Linked DNA regions of Homo sapiens: all the other regions are linked to region 1. Evidence: promoter capture Hi-C in 16 types of primary human blood cells and fetal thymus (Javierre and others, 2016). All regions are on one chromosome and are shown on one strand. The core of a region is centred on a gene start or on the middle of the fragment in contact, and the rest is flanking DNA. Distances in the headings are between cores, read along the strand shown.

Region 1 (5,560 bases), core at 513-3,012:
TCATCTTTTTTACTCTTTTAAAAAAGAAGCAACTATCCAGTCTTTCATTTATTTATTTTATCAAGCTGGACTTAATTAGATCTTTGGGGTCTAAAGCAGCAATGTGCCAAGTAGCTGTGTTCTGATTTTATTTATTGGTCTTTTAACAATTATGTACTCACACCTGCCCTCAAGGTGCTTAAAGGTAGAGCTTGCTAAGGTGGAGAAGGCACAGGGTGGTCCAGAATGCATCTCTTATTAAACCTCATAATTCAGATCCGTTACCAAAAATGTAAGCTTCAAAATGGAAGGTTGTATCTTTCAATGCTCCTTAGAATAGTGCCTGGCAAAAATAGGCATTCAATATATGTTGCTGAATTAAAGGCTTCCAAATTCTGGCCCCATTCTCTCTATCCTGCAATATAGCCTCATTATTTCCTGACAAAAACCTCTTCTCCACATCATAGTCTTCTCATTACTACCCTGAAAACATATTTAATCTTGCTCTTCCTATCTCCCATCCTTAAAAACCTAGTTCTAATTGCTTCTCTATAAAACTTCTGATTGCTCCAGCCCTAAAATGTAGCAGGTTATTGCTAGTATTTCTTTGAAAAATAAAATCATAACTATATCATTTTTATACTCATAATGGCAAAAAAAAATCTTCAAAACTAATGGTGCCAATTCCTTCTTTATCAACTTCAGCTACCATTTTTTAAATTTCTTCTTTCTTTGGTTCAAATCCTAAGGCCCACACTGCAATCTGAAATAGGAAGAAAAGGAATTATAATATGCCATGATTTCTTTCTAAGCTTTTTAACTCCCTATTAAGAGCTTCTCTCTTTTCTATTATGGACTGAGCATAAACAGAAAATTAGGTCAGCAGGCCTGTGTTTCAGTCCTACTGTGCCATCATGTACATCACTGTTACACCCTGGGCTTTTGCCTACTCATTTATAAAACACAATTAAAATGCTTAACAAGATATCGTTTTGCTAATGCAGGGCAGGCATATGCACTGAAGAGACTTTATATTAAGCTTTCAGAAGACTACTTTTAAAGAAAGCCTTAAAGATTGCCACAAATAATATGGTTTTTAAAATGATTTAGAATTAGAAATAATTTCAGAACCTTCTTTTACATCGATGGTTCCAGACCCATCAATATCAAATAAATTAAAGGCGTCTTTAATTTCTTGCTTTTGGGATTCATTCAGTTCAATTTTTGCTGCTCTTTTCTTCCATTGGTCTGAACTTGTATGGTAGTTAGATGCCTGTAATACACACACATATGGGTGAAAGATAAATTATATAACTGGAATAGTTAGCAGAACCAGAATAATTGATGATAAACTATATTAAAGTACCTATTTCCTACTATAAAATGAATCTCAACAGGAGTAAGGAAGGAGTGCAGTTGCTGCCAGGGGCAGCCTTCCTTGCTCTGGCGGAAAAACTTCGGCCCCGGCCCCAGCAGAAGGTTACAGCTTCACACTCACCAGGTCCCCAGCCGGCAGCCGGCGCTCTCAGCCGGGACCTCCCGGCGTCACCTCCCGCAGCCCCGCCCAACCCAAGTCTTCACAGCTCACTGGCGGTTGCTAAGGCCGCTCTCACCGACCTCTCTCAGCCCCGCCCACCCAGCCTGAGTTATTGACATCCAGTTCATCCAATGGACAGAAAAAAAGGCCTTTAAACCAGCCCTTTCTCTCTACTCCCTACCAATAGCGTGACGTCCCCGCCTTTCGCAGCCCGGCGTTAAGCGGAACTTCTCTCTCCAGCTGTGTCTCTTAGCAACTAAGCCCCCGGCTCCTCCAGAAGCCCCTCTTCGCACATGCGCAAACTGCGGACGGGGAACTGGGCTCCCTAGCCCTGGCGTTTTTGGTGTTGCTGTCCCAGCCAGAATCGCGTCTGGCCGGTGGGAAGCCGGGAACTCCAGCCCCCTGTAGGAGAGGAGAAAGGAGCGAGGTTAGTAGTGAGGTGCTTCCGCTGACTGCTAAGCTAAGTCTTTCCTGAAGACGTGGGAGCCCGTGTGTTTGATTTTTCTGTCCTCTTCGGGCCAGGGAAAGAATGAGAATCTAGGGCCTGGAGGTCCTGGGGTGAATTGGTCCAGCATGTGGCTAGGAGTACTAGAGGAAGAGGGGACTGCCCTTTCTTTTTGCCGCTAGACTTTCCTCATTTTCTACAGTGCCTGGAGCTGGGCCTTCAGCCATTTACCTCCTCCCTGTTTTGGGCAGGGATTCTGGCATGGTAGACACCAGAATTCTGTATAGCAGTGGCATGGGGTAACAGTGTCGTTGGAGGGACGTGGGTATTGGGATAAGCATGGGTCTTGGGATGTATTTAAAGCTTCACTACATACATAGATAAACGTTTTTACATGTTTCGTGTAGCATTTGTTTACGAGGTAGGACTTTGGCCCCACCCATAATTACTATCGGACCCCGCCCTCCAACCCCAACACACACACACACACACACACACACACACACACACACACACACACACATCCAGCCATTTCCTTGGCCCAGTCCTAAGATTTGGCCAGTTGTCAACGATATCAACTTGATCTGCACTTCAGAGTCAGACACAGGTAGTCTGATTATCCAGTTGATTCAGTAACGGCCTAGATTTAGATACTTGTGAAACTTTTGTAAACCAACTCAATCTCTTGTCCAGAGGGCCAGATTTACTGCTTCTGCCCGTTCTGAATTTGGCCAGGAATCAGCTTAAAGGACAGGGGAGAAAGACTGAGGTAGGATGGACCACTGACTTCCTGGTGGGAATGAAGGAATGAGAGAATCTTAAAACTTCTAACCTTTAATTGCTCACACATGCGGACCCCTTTTATGCCTCCTACAATGTCTTCTCTAGAGGAAATATTTTCTAAAAATTATACTGGATTCTTCAAAAATGGATTCAGGAAGAATACTAACTTTAGTCTTTTTTTTTTTTTTTTTTTTTTTGTCTCACTTATCTTCCTGAAGGCAGGAGAGGAAAACAAGTGCAAAGTGCATTCTTGAAGCACTCTGTCAAATCACTTTTCATGCTTCATTGAGTAGAAACATGGCACATTTTCCAAAGCCATCAGCCTGTCTTGTTCATATTATATCCCAGACAGACACGCAAGTATTGTAATCATTGATAAAAATCTCATTAGGCTTCTGGAAAATAGGTAAGTTTATCCTCATATTGCAGGTGATTTTTCCATATAAAGTTACCCAGTGAAAATTAAAATGGCACAAATCCAAGATAATTTTTGAGTTAAGTAAAATGTGGTCACTTTAATATATGATTTTTCACGTCATTTATCTCACTTGGAAAGTTGCTCTTGATCAGTTTCAAGGTCATACACTTTTTTTTTTTTGAGACCGAGTCCTGCTCTGTCGCCCAGGCTGGAGTGCAGTGGCTCAATCCCGGCTCACTGCAAGCTCCACCTCCCGGGTTCTCGCCGTTCTTCTGCCTCAGCCTCCCGAATAGCTGGGAGTACAGGCGCCCGCCACCGCGCCCGGCTAATTTTTTTGTATTTTTAGTAGAGACGGAGTTTCACCGTATTAGCCAGGATGGTCTCCATCTCCTGACTTCATGATCCGCTCGCCTCGGCCTCTCAAAGTGCTGGGATTACAGGCGTGAGCAACTGCGCCCGGCCATATACTTCATTTTTAATACTAATATTAAAAGGATTTCTTAGACCCAGAAATGAATAGTGACCAAGTATATACTCAACCCAATCCTAATTTCGAGGATCTCTTGGATCATGTTTGATCTAATGACAATTAAATGGCGGAGTAGTATATTAACCTATTTTTATATCACTATGATTTAGGCTTTTATATTTGGAATATTTACTGCTAGTTAAAATGTTTTTTTAATTGTAGGCTCAGATTCCAACTCCCAGATCTTGAATAGGATGTAATTAGTTTTGAAAACTAGCTATTAACGAATCTAACTGCACTTTAGAACATTAATCATCATCATTATCCAGGAAAACATTAAACACATAGGCACTCTTAAATCTCCCAAATGTATTTAATGTTTTCTATATGTCATGCACTATGCCAACTACTGGGTGAGTTCGAAAGAAATAAAAATAGAATATAAAAGATGAATAACTAAGGAATCTACAGATTAGTGGGGGAGCTAGACACAAACATAATACAATGTTTTTAATACAGGGTATTTTTAATCTGCTTTGGTAGATGGGTATAGAAAGTGCGTTGGGAGCACAGAAAGGAGGGACAACTCTACCCCAGGGCATTAGAGAAGTCCTGATAGGAAATGAGGCATTTGCGTTGGGTCATGAAAGATCTATAGCATCTATGGAGATGAAGAAAATATAGACTATTCAAATCAGTATAGCTTAGTGAAAATAAATATGTTCTAGCGTGACAAGATCATGAGGTTTATAAGGAAAGGTGGGAGAAGAGTCATAAATTAGGTTGAGGTTAGATTATAAGGCACATATATCAAGCCAAGGAGTAAAGACTTTCTTTTTTAAGATAAATAGATGTTTTTTGGCAGTGGAGTAATCTGTTTAGGTTTGTGCTTTTTCAGTGCTAATTCTGACCACCATATGAAGGAGGAACTCTCATTAGAAGCAATTAAAGGGCCTCAACTAAGGCGGTGCCAAATAGGAATCAAGTCAACTCCAAGGATGGTTAAAACTTATATTCATGTTGGAGAAATACTAAAAGTACCGTCTGTTTTCTCTTGCTTCAGTTTTGTACTTAAATTTGGGGGAACAAATATGGTGAAAAAAATTCATTCACTTACCAAATATTTATAGAGTACTTGCTGTGTGTCAGGCAATATTGTAGGTACTCGGGATATACATCATTGACTAAAATTGCCTTCCTGGAAATTACATTCTAAGAGAGAGATGTAGTCTATAAAAAATAAATAAGTAAACTATATCCTATTTTATAAGGGAATAAGTGTTATGGGAAAAAGAAAGTATAACAGATGGAACAAATCCAGAGTACAGAGGGAAAAGAGGATTTGTGGTATTCTATAGAGTGCTCAGGGTAGGCCTCATTGAAAAGCAGAAAATTTGAGAAAATATTTGAAGGTGATGCAGCAATAGATTTCTTAGGGAAGAGCATTCCAGAAAGAGGGAACAACTAGAACAGAAACATTAAGATAGGGAACATGCAAAGCATTACAAAAAGAGGCCAGAACAAAGTGGCCAAGGGATAAAATAGTAAGTGATAAAGTCAGAAGGGTAAAGAAAGGACTGCAAATAGTTAGGGCATTGTAAGGACTTTGACTTCGACTCCAAGTGAAATGGGTAGGCCTTGCAAGATTTTGAGCCTAGGAGTGAAAGGATATGAGTTCATTTTTAAAAGGGACTCCTGTGTCAAAGGCATAAAGCTTTATTTTCTGAGTTAGAGGTTTTTAAACAGTAGAGTGACATGATTAGACTTCTGTATTGGGAATAGACTGGAGATGAGCAAACAGTTGATTTAGATAATAAAAGGCTAATCATGCCCATCAAGAAAATATTATAATTTTTCAAAATGCAGCTCCTGAAAGCATTGCATGTCTTATTACTCTAAACTGAGTACCTTAGACAAAACTGGACATAA
Region 2 (4,989 bases), core at 170-2,669, 1.6 Mb before region 1:
AGAATTTGCATTTCTCAGAAGCTGGTGCTGCTGGTCCCAGGTGATGTTTTGAGTAACATTCTACTATATAACTATGGCATGCCTCCAACAAGAGAGAGGGACATCCACAGAAATGAAAGCCCATGCAGATTCATTATCTGTTAGCTCTGTTGCGTTGCTCTTCTGCCCTGGCCTAGCCACAGTCCTGTTTATTTTCTGTTAAAACATTCATTAACTCACTACCGAGTGGAGAGAGTGCCCTGCTTTCTTGACATCCAGTATAAGTTGATGCTTTTAGCATGACATGAGGAGAGGAAAGAAAGAAGTAATACCTGTATTCACCAGAACGATTATCATCTTTAGTCATTAGCTCATGATGGGCATATCATTACATTATGTTTGGTAATATCATATGAAAGACATTGCCTCTATTTTGAAGACCTTTGGTTCATGATAAGTTCAATAAAAATTACTTCCAAATATTGTGACAGAACACTTCTCATCCTGGTGTGGCCTCAGAGACCATAAAATGACTACTTGCTCATTATCAAATGAGTCCTCTGTACAAATAGAAAAGGTTCATTTTCAGAGATCTAAGAATAATTTGCTTCTGTATTTCTTTAGTAACTTCAACAGTGTCTATTTGGTGATATTAGTGGTAACTTACTCCACTGCATTACTATATAATATGGTCATAAAGGTAGGAAAAGAAAAGCAAATGTGTGGTTTTGAGTATGTGAATAGGCTGGGAATTTCCTAATAGAATGTCTTAGAATACACAAATACTGTCTAGCCTGATATGAATATCATTTTTTTTCAGGAAGTTGTAAGAGAAAAAAAGAGCTTTTTTCATCCTTCAGGGAGAATTTAAAGAAGCAACAAAAGTAGTTTAATAATTTATGTTTTTTGAGGATTTGTGTTAAGCTCTAGGAAGTGTCAGAATAGTTCAATTTTTTTTTTTCAATTGGTGAATAGTAGTAAAGAGAATCTAGGGTGGGGTGGGCCAAATGGATTATGGCAATGGAATATGCTGGTTCCTTATCCTACACCTGGGAATAGACTACTTTTGTAGATCTTGTTATTTGAATTTTCTGATCTACTTTTCATGCTATTTGGGATCCTAGAAATTTTGTAAATGAGTCATAAATGAAAGATGAGTCTAATAGATATTTATTCCATTTTGGGCTTTCCCAACTTCCTTGAACAAACACCTATAACCTATTCTAGAATATTTACGATTAGTATGGATATCCTAAACAGATCTACTGAGATGTTAGACAAATCAATTTTGCCCACGGGTGGCACGAGCTGAGTAGCCTTAGGTAATTGTTTTCACTTTGGTTAAACATCTGGCTTCAGGAGCCTGATAAAAACAAACTCCTAGGTATATTTCCCCATTTTCTTCAATGCAAATAAATTGAATAGAGTACACATAATTGTGTGAACTTCTAAAAACAGTATGTTAATTACAAGGCTGACATATTACAAATTTTTTCTGAGTGAATGGGTCAGCAAGCATTCAGCTTGTACATAGAGGGTAGGCCCTGGATTCCATGCTGTGATGGATGGTGTGCAAAATCAGCTACCAAAATCAACATTTTGAGTAACTTTTGTTTATCACATTGGTAAGAAGGAAAAGAAAAATATTCATTGTAAAATAGAAGAACAATAATATCTTACATTAGGTACCAAAACCCATCTTAAATAAGACAAAAATCTACTGTCATAACTCATCACTTTATATCTATACTTTTAAGGGACAGCTTAAAGTATAGATGTGGGATGAAGTCTTTTCTGGCTTTAAGCATCCTTTTATTTTTTGCTCACTACCCATAAGTAATGCATTATGCCTGTTAAAGCATGAATTCTGGGTCCAGAATTGTCTACCAAACATATTATATACTAGCTAATTAAATTCATCCATTCACCCATTCAATAAATATTTAAGAACTTACTCTGAGCAAAGTCCTGTTCTAAGTATTCAAGATAAAGCAGTGAACAAAACAGAAAAAATTCAGAACCACATTATGACATTGCCTGAGTCCCTCCCTCCCTAAAAATACATGTTAAAATGATATTTTACAAATGTGTTGTTATAAAGATGGATACATAATATATGAAAATGTGTTTTCAACCCCAAAGTTTATTTTTTCTTCTAATTTTAAGAGAAATTAAACATAAACATACTTATGGGTCCCTAACAGTACTGTAGGCCTGGCCACTGTGCCTCTGGTGCCTAATGGAGGAGTTGGCACAAAAATCCTACCTTCATGGAACTAACAACCAAGATTAGTAGCTAGAAAACAAATAAAGTCATAAAAGTTAGACATTATATATACATTAGATAGTAATAAATTCCAAGGAAAAATTAAACCGGGAAATACCAGTAGTATAGTATGTAATTTTAATTAGGACAGCCAGAAAAGTCATCTTTGAGAGGTGACATTTGTATAAAGATCTGATTTTACTCAAATTATTTTTTCTCATTGAGATTTTATAATTGTAAAATCATAAAATTTTAAAATGTAAAATTTCGTGTAGAATTATTAAATTATATAATCACCGGAATGATGAAAAATTGTATTTTTCTAACTTGAAACAATTTTCTGTGAACTACAAATATGGATACACAAACATGAAGAGTGCACATGGACATGAGCAAAACTACAGCATTCTTGGCTGTTCTAATATCTACAAGGTTTATATCTTTGTGTCTACATTTAGGGAAATTAACTAGACAATGTAAGAAAACTTGTAATACGGTATCAAAAATGGGAGGATTTTAAATATAATCTCAATTATTTATAGTTCCTTTAATGCATTTGTGCAACATTTTCTGGAAAAGAAAAAAAGGGAAAAGATAGATTTTGCCCCGCATTTGTATGTCTGAGCATGGTTTTTCTGTCTTAGAGGATAAAGTATATTGTTTATGAAGTTTATCCTCATTTTCCCATTTTCTCCTGAAGAATAACTTGTCCCACACACAGATCTACTACAGGATCACATTTGCAAAGCATCCTATCAACTATGCAGGCACATACTTAATACTTTGAGGATCTTTAAATAACATCTCTGAACACCAGTTAACTACAATCATGGGCATGTGGTCCAAAATACAGGGTTTGAGCACCTGTTTCAAGTCCAATCACCTACTCTTGTTTCAGAAGACAATTTCTGTTGCTTTTATCATGAAATATCTAGTTGAGAGAGGCATATCTCAACTCAACCATGTGCTAGCGCATTCCTATGTTCCACATATGGGTTGGCTCTTGGAAAAGTCAACAGTATAGGATTATTTTTCCTGAACTAGTTAGCGACCCATTCCTCCAAAACATGAATGAACTAGTCCATAAAACAACACACACACACACACACACACCCCTGCATGCACACACGCACACTTTTCCTCTCTCTGACTTTAAAGTAGGTTTAAAGTAGGTTTTAGGCTTGCACTTGAGAGAGCTATCATCTCAGCCTTGGATTCTGCATTTAGCATGCTTCCTTAGAGTGTGTTTCACACCCAACTCCATAGTGATCATTTTAAAGAGCAGTTTGTTTCCTGAGGAAGCTTTTGCGGTTGACCAAGAGATACGTTATTGTTCGCAAACACCCACTTGCTTTATGTGGTTCTTCAAACTAAGAAATGTTCTTACTGTCTCTGTAATTCCTCCTCATTTCTCTTTCTCATGATGAATCTTTGTAGGGACAAAAATTCTCTAAAGCCTCCTTAGCCAAGTATGACTGAAAGCTGCAGCTAGGAGTGATTTATAAAATCACAGATAATTTCTTGTGCAAGCCTCCAAGGCTGGGACCCACACTGCAGCCTAGATTTTGTTGCGACTGTCAGTAAGAATGTTTTATGCAGGGACTTCTCATTTTAATCTCCCATGCTTGACCTGACTGATACCTTATTGAGGCGTTTTATTTCACATTCGTAATGTTCCTTTTCCTTGTTCGCAAGAGTATTTTTTCCCTTTAAAAGTTTATTCTCTTCTTTCAATTCATGTAATTCTTCATTTAGGCGTTCCTTTTCCTTCTGAAGTTAAGACCAAGAAAAGAAAATAAAAGTCAGTACAAGTCAAATGAGATGATATTGTAGGAATTCTGATATATCAGCCATGGCAGGCAGATTGAGGGGTCACCCTTCTGAAATACAATAAAAACAGGACCTGCAAGACTTTAAACTTAATGTTCCATTTGAGCAATATTCTTTGGATGCACACTAGAATTAGGATTGAAGGAATCTTTCTTTTATCAGAATTTACTGAAGTATCTTAGAAATTTTGTGACCCCAGGAAAAAAAAAATCAAAATTCCCAATTCTTTTTTTTTTTTTTAAAGACGAATTCTCACACTGTCTCCCGGCCTGGAGTGCAATGGTGTGATCTCAGCTCACTGCAACCTCCGCCTCCCAGGTTCAAGCAATTCTCCTGCCTCAGCCTCCCTAGTAGCTGGGATTATAGGTGCCTGCCACCACGCCCGGCTAATTTTTTATATTTTTTAGTAGAGATGGGGTTTCACTATGTTGGCCAGGCTGGTCTCAAACTCCTGACCTCGTGATCTGCCCGTCTCAGCCTCCCAAAGTGCTGGATTCCCAATTCTTACTTTCAATTATCAGACAAATGGGTCTGCAGGATAAGCAAGTCCTTATATACTGTCACTAGGTGATGGATAAGTGATTAAGAAAAATAGCTGAAAGTCTTAAAAAGAAAAAACTCTCATTGTGAGAAAACAATACTAAATATCTCAAAGCTCATTCCTGCATCATTCTGTATTAGAAAGAGGGAAAAGAGAATAATCCTTAGGCCAATAAGACCTTTCATTACAGATCATTATTTAGAGCACTCTATTGTTGTGATTATTATTTTTAAAAGGTAGAAATCAACTAGTCCAACTGCCACCACTCCTCCAATTTTAGATGACAATCTAAAATTGTCATCCAGAAGTGCAGTGTTTTAAACAACTGAAGGTTAGCTGCGTAAACATCAACAGGCTCTGGATTCAGACAATA
Region 3 (5,521 bases), core at 3,022-5,521, 2.0 Mb after region 1:
ATACATCCCTTTGGCTGACTTTAATAAATTCCTCCCATATTTGAATTCTGTACCATCCCTAACTCTCATTCTAGAATACCACTCCCTCTATCACTATATGGGTAATCTGAAAACCACACTCAAACCACACTGTGACACAACTCCTGTTCTCCAGCTTTGCCATACATAACCTTCTAAACCCCTCCTCTTCCCATCAAGTCCCCCAGAGAATTTCTAAGATTACTAACACATACACACACACACACACACACACACACACATACACACACACACATTTAAAATCTCAGCCCTGCCATTTACTAGTCTGTAACCTTGAACAATTTATTTAGCCTCTCTGTACCTTAGTTTCCTCATCTATAAAATGGGAGTAGTAACTACCTCACAGGATTATTATGAGGATTAAATGATCTAATATTTGTAAAGCACTTAGAATAATGACTGACACTTACTGTTTACTGTAATTACTATTAAATATTTTCAATATTACTTTCAAAATGTATAGATTTCACCCCATTAGATTTGAGGATATCATAAAAACAAACATCACTCTTTTTAGAGTGATTCAAATCTCTCCTAGAAACACACTCAAGCAGAAGAGAGCCACACACACACACACACACAAACCTCCAGTGCACAGTATACCAGAATCTTTGGAGAACAAACTTTTGCCCGCTAAGAATGTTATTGTAGAGAAAAAGCTTATGGCAAAATGGGTAATTCAAGCAGAAGTGAAGCACAAACTAACAATTTGCCTGCTACTTTTACAATGAGCAGAGGCATGATATGCAAAAAAAAATGTTTTCAAGGAATTATATTTTCTTGAACAGATTTGAATCTGAAACCACTCTGGAAAGCAACTTGCTCACTTCCTGGACCAATCCATTTACCATGGAAAAAAAGCTTTGCTGAAGTTAGGAAAAAACACTTTCTTTGTACCACTCACTAAAAGTAAAAGTAGTAAGATGATCCCAAATGTTCGCTATTTTATAAATTCACATACTTCTAAATACCAGTTTTTCAATTAGTTAGTTAATAGGAGAATAAATCCCAAAACTCATCAGCAAATTTTCTTCAGATTCTCAGTGGCCAATAATCTCCTTTAAAGAAAACCTTTCTTACTTAAAAAAATACTACTACTATAAGGAAAAAAATAAAAAGATACTAGATGCTATACTGATAATTACTCTAAGTTCAGTTCACCCTCTGAAAATGTAACCTATTTCCAGACAGCTAAATGTGCTTCTCTACCATAAGAACAAATTTCCCTTACCATTTATAGGCAATGTAAGTAACATTATGTTATTAAGTAAAATTAAGATACACTTTTAATCCATTTTAATCCATATGCTGTGCAATACCAAAACCTAAATTTTACTTCCTTTGATATTCAAAGTAAACAGGTATACTCATAACTTCAGATTAAGGCCAAATGTACAGCACCAGTAAAAGTAACCCACAAAGTTAAAACAAAAAACTACAACTAAAAATTAATTTAATTTCAGCATAGAAATCTGAACACCATGACATTTTTATTGTTACCTTTTAAATGCTTCGGCTGGGTTTCTCTCGCACTCCCCAGGCTGTAAGAGGCTTTGGACTGCTGGATCCCTTAGCTTGTCCTCATATCCTTGGAGTAGTCCACTGCGGCAGATCTGGGCTACTAGACCTCTAATAAACCCTCCAACACACAAAGTATCAGAGTCCTGGGCTTTGCAGAAATGAAAGGCCAAAGCTTGGCGATGTAAACCTCTCTGCAAACTTGCAGGTGAACTTGGCCATAAGAGTTCAGTACATAGGGCCGTCTTGCCACTGCCAGGCCCTCCTACCAACAACACACCCCAGGCAGCTCCCTTTCCAGAGACACCACTAGCATTATTCCCAGAATTCATTACAAGTGATGGTGCATTGACAGCACTATTGCAGCAGTTACTTTTCTCCTGGAGGCAATGCTGAAGCTTGTGGAAAACCCACTCCCTACAGTAAAACTGCTTCCCTTGCAGTAAACTGGTTTGAGCCATTTTGCAGACTTTCTCTTCCCAAGGATTAGTCATAACGGGTTTTTTATCTTCATTTGCTAGAGTCTGGATACATCAACACAGGTCTTTCCATCCATTATGACATAACTTGTATATTAAGTTGACTCTGAAGACAGAGTAACTAGTTACAGTAAAATTCAACAGCCACAGAGTTCCTCTGTCAACAGAACGTGCATGACTTTATTTGGTTCCTTATTCTTGATCAGCAGTCTATGTATTAGTTGTTGAACTGAGGGAGAAACGCCTGATTCCACAGCTCAGCAACACTTTTCCTAAATTTTAATGAGTCACATAACTCCATGGTTATAACTGGAGTTTATGTGATTGTGGATGTTTCAAGAACAGAGATGAGACAATACATGTGGAAAACTAAAGAAAAAACCCAATCTTTCAATTTGTACAAAATGCTTCTCCAGATTCCAAGTGTTAATTCTGCATCTGACAATTAGATTCTGAAAAGAGGTCCACTGCATTAAATGGCATCAGAGAGATTACATTTATACGGTATGAGGTACAGTATGTAAGTAGCTCTGTATTTCTCGTTGAAGGATGATCACTCAAGAGTACTAGATCGTGCCAGTTTCAGGCATCTGGGCAACTGCCAGGAACTGTTTCAGATTATAGTCTCTTATGTGGCAGAAATGACAACCACTGTTAACACCTTCTTAATTCAAAGCATTCATAATATGCATTTTTCAAGACAGCAGATTCTTAATGAACCTGTTCACAGGTTTCTTGGTTTTAAGACGTCCGGGTAATCAACAATTTCCACAAGTAACTAAAATAAAACAAACAAAAATACCTCAGTGCAAAATATCATATGTTAAAAACTTATTAAGGACAATAAAGGTTGCAGTGTACCAGTTAACGTAATCTCAAAAATCCACGTACTTCACCTTTGGCACTTTCAAAAAGTTGGACAAAAACCACTGAAATAATCACATTCTCCCTTCTGCATTTTTCTTCCTCATTGTTATGCTTCCCAAACAGCCACATTTTAATCAAGTTACCCAAGATTTTTGCAACTTCACCATAGCAAAGGAGGGGGGGAGAAACTTTACGCACATACAGTAACACCCTTAACTCCAGGCAAAACGCTCATTCACAGTAGACTGGTAGAACAGCGCCAGCTAAGGAAGCTCTATTAACTTACACAGTCCAGTCAGTCAAGGACTGTCTACTCCTCCAGCCACACTTCTTTGTTGATAATGTGCAAAAATCTAGGGGAAGATTACCAGGGTTGCAGCTGGATGGGAAACGGTTTAAAAAAAAAAAACAAAAACGATGGGGGATGACTGTTCTTATAAGAATGATAAAGCAAACACAAGTAAAATGTGAATCCTTCCTTCCTCTGGGCCAAGGATGGAGGTCAGGGATAAAATCTACCAGTCTGGCCGGAGAAAAGGCTGCTAGAGAGAAATTCCTTCCAAGACAGGAAAGGGATAAAGAGTAGAGTGCTTCGGTGCTGGTGGGTGTCTGCCCACAGGTCCGGCCTCCAGTTTCAGCTGACAGACAAAAGGAACTCCGGGATTCCCAGCGCCGGGCACCACCTTGGGTTGGAACCGCCCAGAGGAGCCACAGGGGAGCCACCTCAGAGAGGCCACGAGCGAAGGTGCAGCCTCCACACCGAGGTCTGCCCTTCCAGAGGCTGGGAGCGCCTCTGCACCCCGCCCCGCACCGAGATTGGGGTGTGTCTTTTGAAGGGGGAGGGGGTGACTGAGGTCCTTGCCAATCCCAGACGAGGGGTCGCCTCCCGGTCGGCTTCCGCCTCTGCGCTCCCGCCCCATGCCCCGCTCCCGCTCCCACCCGGCCGACGGCGGTGCGAGGGAAGAGGGCAAATCTGGGGCTCGAGGCCGGAGAGGGTGGGTGGTTGGGTCAGGTCCAAGCCACGGCCTCGGCCTCCCAGCTTCCAACCCGAGGGAGGGGCCTCGCTTCCACCGCCGCCGCCGCCCCCCGGTTACCTCGGCCCCAGCCGCCGCCGTGGCCGCCGCTGCCGCTGTTAGGGACTCTCAGTCTCAGACACTTGCTTCGCTGAGAAGTCGCTGCCAGCAGCGCTCCCAAGACTCCACTCCAACTGCAGCCGCCTCCTCCGCCGGGCCCGGGGCACGCTCCCAGCTCCGGATCCTCCTCTTGGCCCCCGGCGGCTGCCAGTTCCAGCTTTCCCAGCAGAATCGGTCGTGCTCGCCCCAGCCCCCACCGGCCAACCGCCGCCGCCGCCGCCGTCAGGGCAGTAACTGTCTCAGGCAGCCCCCGGCCGGCCGGCTCCGCCCCGCCCGCCCAGCCCAGACCCCGCCCCCGCCCCCGCCCCCGCCCCGCCGCTCGGCCTTTCTTTGCCCGCCGGCTCCGCCTCCGCGTCCTTCCCCTCCCCCACCGCGCTCTCCCGCAGCATCCCGTGCCTGGGCGTGTGCGGCCGCCTGGGACCCGCTGCCGGCGCGGCGGGGAGACCTGTCTCGGGGCGGCGTGGGGGCCCCGCCTTTCTCAGGGGAGGCGGAGAACGGGGCGGGGGCTGCGTTCTCACGTCTCCGAGCTCACGCGAGTCGTTGCCCCCACCCTCCCCGTCACCACTGGGCCCTGATCCTTCCTTTGTCTTCCAGGCCGGAGGGACTCGCCGGCTGTTGGTGCCGTATCTGCTCCTGGGAGGGGCAGTTGGGTAGGGGGAGATTGCCTCTTGCCTCTCTCTGCTCAACCCTTTTGCCTCTCCCTTAACCCCGTTGCTTCCAAAGCCACTTCGGGCCCCGTTCTACCCCTCAGTCGTCCGGTCTCCTTTCAGTCCATTAAATTCCAGGGATGCTTTTACTTTGGCTGGGACGAAGAGAAGGAAGGAAAAGACTGGGAAGAATGTTGCGAAAATAGAAATAGTGGGGGTATACAGCGACATTCCTACCAGCCTCATGAAAAGGACGTGGCCTCCATCAGATGGAGGTTGACAGCAGGCTTGACTGGGTCTCAGGCCCCTGCTCCTCAGGGCCACTTGATCACCCGCAGCGTCCACTAGGGGGGAAGGTCTTGGTCATGTGGCGTCAGGAAATGCCCTAGAGGGCCTGCTCACAGGGGCCTGTTGGACTAAGCATGTCAGTTGTTTGCACTTACTGGACCTGAGTTGCTTAGATTCCAAATTTCTCCCGGGAAAATAAGTATACCGTCAACTGATGGAATAGGAAATGTAGCATTTTTTATTTTAATTGTTTATGCTAAAATCCAGAGTGCTCTATTTCCCATTCCTCATTAACTTGCATGTGGTTATTTGCCAAAATATTAAGCCAGTCTCCCATCTAGTTTTAGAAATTTCATAGTATAGCTATCACAATAAGAAAGATGGATAAACAAATAGATCGTGTTTGTGCTTACTCTTTCATATTGTTTATTCGTGCCAATTGAGGTTTACTGATCTTAGTATTTAATTTTAATTCATGTACCCTGAATTTTGGGCTTCTTTCCTAAAACACAAGCAAAAGAGGCAGAGTATAAATTCTCCAGAATTAGGG
Region 4 (5,108 bases), core at 1,051-3,550, 1.5 Mb after region 1:
TTAGTATATTAGATGCTTTGGTTTGGTGGTGCACTATTTGTTAAATATTTTTGCCACTAACATGCTGACTTCAGCGACTTGGCTTGCTTTTTATTTTTGTCTTTCTCTTAGTGAGAAAGATTTGTGTCATGGCTTTATATGGATTGTCTTGTTTCTGGTGACTTGAGTCAGGGAGTGGTTCCTAGAAAATGGATGGAGGTATCAGTTGGATAAACCTCCAATGTAGTCCAAACCAGCCTAAAAGTATCACTGTTGCAGCCCCATTATGCTACAGGTAATTTATACTGAGATGTTTGATCAAATTGTGTCTTGGCTCACCTCCAAAATCATGAAGAGACTTGCTGTCATGTCAATTTGTGTACAAGGTCACTCTACTTCACATTTCCAGGCCAGTGATTATTGGGTCATTGTTGCACCACCTCTTCCTGGCCTTGGCTTGGGTTGGGTAATGCAGAACATCATTTATAAAAACACAGATGTAACAGATTTTAGAGGTTCTTTTTTGTTTATTATGGGTTTGTCCAAATCAAAACTGCAACATCTTCCTGGCAAAATCTGTGAATCTTTCATAAATTTGTATTATATTCACAGCTGTTGTGTCTTCTTTGGTGAATGTTTTAAAAAATTTTTAATTTATCATTTTGAATAATTTTAATATTTCATAATTACATTTTTAAGAAATTCAGAAAAAGAAAAAATTAATAATATTAAATATGCAATTATCAGTATTTTAATTAATATCCAAAGCCACAAAACCAAACATTGACTCCAGAATAGCTTGTTTAAAAAACTCTCTAGTTCATTCCTGCTCAAATCTTCTGAAATATACTTTCCTTGAATTTCTTCTCTATGCTTACATCCTTTTGCTTCTTATTCTAACTGTTCACATGTGCTATCTTTTCCTCAGCATTTTTTTCTCAGAAAAAGAACAATTGCATTGCACAATATGCCCTTGAAATTATAAGACCAGAAGGCTCATCTATAGAAGCTGAATATAAACTTTGATCTAGAACCAATTTGGAGTTCATAAATTAAGTTTTCCTTTTGAACCTCAGGAATTTAGGCAGAAATTTTCTGAAAAAAAAAAATCAGAATTGCTTTAGGTGCCACCAGCTATGTATCAGCAAGTTAACAGTCATCCTCTCAGATAAGGAAATATAATAAGAATTAATAAGATGAAAAACACTAGGAAGAAATTTTAGTAACACAGCTGTGCATGATTTTAAAAATATTCTTGAAAGAGCAAAAAAAAAATATTTAAAATATATTTCATATATAAGGCCATTTCAGAATTCTCTCCCTTAAAGTAAATTGGACAAAGATCCAAAGTTATAAACAAAATAGAGCTGAATCAGAGGAGATTTTACAATTAGATGATACATTTTCAGATAATATTCTGAAGTAGATAGAAGAAACAAAGTAAATGGAGGGTTTTTTTTCTGTTTTCTTTTTTTTTTAATAACAAGGTTTACATCTAAAATTATAGTAGGAAACTGCTAGATGCACTCCAGCATTTGCTGACATTTTCAATGAGCCACAGGTAAAGTAAACAAGCTAAAAATTAAAATCAATTATGGCTACCAGCTAGATAGAACCACCAGCTCCCAAAACAAAAATAAAACCAAAAGATTCTCTGATCCTTAGAATTGAGAACCTAGGAAGAGACACAAGTAGAAATGACAAAAGAAGTACTGTTAGAAGAAAGAACGTTCCACACTTGCTAAGAAGTGGTGGGTGACTATCCAAACGCTGCCCTATGATTTCACTCCAAGGGAGAGACTAGTGTTCCACAATTCTGTTTTCTTCTAAACTCCCAAGGGGAAATATCTGTAAATTGAGATGGACATTAATACATCTTTCTCATTAATATGGGTGTTAAATATTTTATTAATCCAACTACCACAGAACATTAGAGTCCTCAAAACTAAACTTTCAAATTATCTAAAACTCATGAAATTAAGCAAATTGACTTTGGATGGCTCATAAACAACCGTAATAGTAATGGTGTAGTAATAATAAAATGGAACAAAATATAGTTTTGCTTAAAGTAAAAATGTATGCTTGGCCCAGAAGATAGTAAAAGAAAGCTTTGAATGTGTAGAGTAACAGGTAAAACCCTTCAGGAGAAGTAAACATTCTTTGCCTTGGTTTACATAAACCATTCAAATACTGAAAATTTTTACAATTCTAAATCCTTTTCTGCCAACATACAATTATTACTTTGAGATTGCTATTATGAGAACAACACAATTTTTTCCCTTACACAAACCCTGCAAATGTAATAAATAGGTAGGAGTCTACTTTTCAAATAGAATTACCAGATAAAATTTACTGCACAGGAGTTATTTTTAGAAGTTTCATATTATAGCTGATCTGGACATCAGTATACCTACACTATGTATAATTCAAGAAGCAACCAAAGAAGGGGCTCTGATCTCAGAGGCTCCACAGACAAAAGACAGAAAAAGTGGGAAACAGTTTATAAGAATCCAGATAAGTCTTTTCAGATTATTATAAGCTTTAATTTTTCCCAAGTTTTTTTACCTGATATTCCTACAATAGCCTAAGATATTATATACATGCAAAAAGCAAAGGCATATACTGATGATATCCTATATCTTGATGCAATATCCAAGGTTTTTTATTTGCCTCAGAATATCTGTAGCCTGAACTAATTGAAGCAGTTAAAACTACTTTTAAATATGAAGGTTCTACATGTAGTACAATCTCAATTGCTAGATGAAAGCACCAGATTAGTTCATTATTGATTATGAAAGCTTATAACTTTCCATTCATCTTAGCATCAACGTAACTTTTTAAATAAAAAAACTTTATTATTTTAATCAATGAAAAAGAAGCTCACAATTGTGTTTATCAAGTTTAAATGTCCATGTATAGAACAGATATTTTGGATAATCCTGTCTTCATCAGTTCCAGCTGCTATAACAAATTACCATAGACTGGATGGCTCATAAACAATGAAATTTATTTCTCAGAGTTCTGGAGGGTGGAAGTGCCATGATCAGGTGCCAGCATGGTCAAGTTCTGGTGAGGGTGATCTTCTGGGCTGCAGAGTACCCACTTCTTGTAGTGTCCTCATATCGTAGAAAAAGGGTGAGAGGCTCATTGGGGTCTCTCTTATAAGGGCATTAATCCCATTCATGAAGGTTCTACACTCATGACCCCTCAAAGGTCCCACCTCCTAATGCCTATGTTGAAATACGGGTGGACAAAATATATGAAACAACCATATTTTGATAATGGACAATATGAAGAGCAGGACTGTTATCCTTGAGAAAAGGGGAAGAAAAAAAGAGAGCCATGTTTTCCTTATATTTCCCCCTGGGGGCACCTATAACCATATTGTAGTGGAGGGCAAACCAAGCAGAGCACGTCACTCTCAGTGAGTTGAGGAGACAGTGACTGGCATTCAGGGAGGTTGCATTGGTGGGTGTTGCTAGGAGAGAGTAACACAGAGTAGGTGATTATGGAAAAGAGAGTTCAAAAAATCTGTAAGTTTCTCCTTGAAGCCTTGGCTAAATTCTAAGCAGCGTTTTGTCATATGAGACACCATGAAGCCAGGCAAAAAAACAACTAGCAGGGAAAGAACAACTACCAGAAAACTCTAAGTGCAATAATTACAATGGCTTTCAAAGGACTGAGTGATTATTGAGTTGAGTAGAAAAAGCTAGTTAAATACACAGGGTGTTCAGCAGACAGCCCCCAATGGTTACAATTTGATGCTAAATTAGTTCTGGAGTAAAGGCTGTTCCAGATATGCCCTAATAAAGCCTAACATTGAATCTTAGCCTCAAGCAGATCCACAAGTAACAAAACTGCCTGTAATATAAGGTTGAAGGAGAAGCATATCATACAAAAACTCTAATCTACAAAAGGAAATAAAAATATCCAAATGATAAATACAGCAAGGGTTTTATTTTAAAATTGTTAAAAAACAATTGACTCCATAAAGCAAAAATGAATGTAATGTATTGTGGATTTTATAAATTATATAGCTATAAAGGTTTATGACAACATTAGCATAAAGGAAAGAAATGATTTATGAATACTGTTGGAAGTTTCCACATTATAGATGAAAGAATAAAACATAATTTGAAGATGGACTACCAAGTTAAAGATTAATATTATAAATTCTAGAGTAATCACTAAGATAATAAAACATCGTAGCTAATGACTCAATAGAGAAGATAAAAGAGAAAACTAAAAACACTCAATCCGAAAGTACTCAGAAAAATAGAAAAAGAAAAAGAAAAAAATAATGTATATGATAAGTGAAAAAGCAGCAGCAAAATAGTATGGTTAATCCCAATCATATTAGTAATTATATTAAGCATAAATGGTCTTAATTCTGAAATTATAAGGCAGAAATTTTTAGCTGGTTATAAAAATACAAGATATAACTATACACCATCTATAAGAAACATATTTGAAATATTGTTTAAAGACTCAGATAGGTTAAAAGTAAAAGCCTGGTTAAAAAAAAAAAGAGACATACATACACTAGACATACAAAGGTGAAGTAGTTATATTATATCCGACACTGTGGGTTTCAGGATAAGAAGTACCTGACACAAAGAGATATATTTCATGATGATAAAAAGTTCAGTTCATCAAGACAAACCAACAGTCTTAAAAAGACATGAACCCAATAGCAGAGCTTCAAAATACATGAAAGAAAAAATGTATTTAGACATAAATGAAAGGGCATATAGAAGGATCCACAATTATGGTTGGAGATTTCAACACTCTCCTCTCAGCAGCTGATGAGCATGTAGACGAAAAATCAGTGAAGATACAGGAGATTTAAACAGTACTATCAACCACCTGGAACTAGTTGAGATATATAAAATACTTAATTAACAAGAGATGAGTACACATGCTTTTCAAGTGCATCTGGAACATTTACCTAGACAGGCCATATGAAGGGGCATAAAAAGTTCTCAATAAATTTAAATAGTATTAAACATATTTTTGTAACAAAATATTTTGAAACCTATATTGGAAATATTCAAATATTTTAAAATTAAACAGCTGTTCCTGTTTAACTTCTGACTTACCTACCCATGGCTCTAAAATTTTACAGTTAA

The links. Contacts are between HindIII fragments. The CHiCAGO score rates a contact against its expected background, and 5 or more counts as called.
Region 2: a contact is called between a fragment that was not itself captured here and the fragment with the promoter of BBS12 in region 1, in 1 of 17 cell types (non-activated CD4 T cells). The highest score is 6.0, in non-activated CD4 T cells.
Region 3: a contact is called between the fragment with the promoter of ANKRD50 here and the fragment with the promoter of BBS12 in region 1, in 1 of 17 cell types (fetal thymus). The highest score is 6.7, in fetal thymus.
Region 4: a contact is called between a fragment that was not itself captured here and the fragment with the promoter of BBS12 in region 1, in 1 of 17 cell types (fetal thymus). The highest score is 5.7, in fetal thymus.

Annotation. Positions count from the first base shown.
Region 1 is chr4:122,730,942-122,736,501 of GRCh38, forward strand. It overlaps BBS12 (Bardet-Biedl syndrome 12), which reads left to right and starts at 1,763. Exons shown (of 2, transcript NM_152618.3): 1 at 1,763-1,943. It also overlaps the pseudogene CETN4P. RefSeq lists a silencer at 1,433-1,652 and an enhancer at 2,013-2,222. The HindIII fragment of the contact is 1,306 bases long and covers 1,017-2,322 here.
Region 2 is chr4:121,150,665-121,155,653 of GRCh38, forward strand. It overlaps TNIP3 (TNFAIP3 interacting protein 3), which reads right to left. Exons shown (of 11, transcript NM_024873.6): 5 at 3,887-4,015. Among named protein-coding and RNA genes, the nearest start is that of TNIP3, 11 kb to the right of the region's middle. The HindIII fragment of the contact is 4,252 bases long and covers 1-3,545 here.
Region 3 is chr4:124,708,461-124,713,981 of GRCh38, forward strand. ANKRD50 (ankyrin repeat domain containing 50) reads right to left here and starts at 4,272. Exons shown (of 5, transcript NM_020337.3): 1 at 3,998-4,272; 2 at 1,540-2,814. The coding sequence starts at 2,051. RefSeq lists enhancers at 3,680-4,245, 4,246-4,811 and silencers at 3,759-3,998, 4,149-4,528. The HindIII fragment of the contact is 8,904 bases long and covers 1,954-5,521 here.
Region 4 is chr4:124,252,858-124,257,965 of GRCh38, forward strand. All of the region lies in intron 3 of LOC105377406 (a long non-coding RNA gene), which reads left to right. Among named protein-coding and RNA genes, the nearest start is that of LINC02516, 300 kb to the right of the region's middle. The HindIII fragment of the contact is 431 bases long and covers 2,086-2,516 here.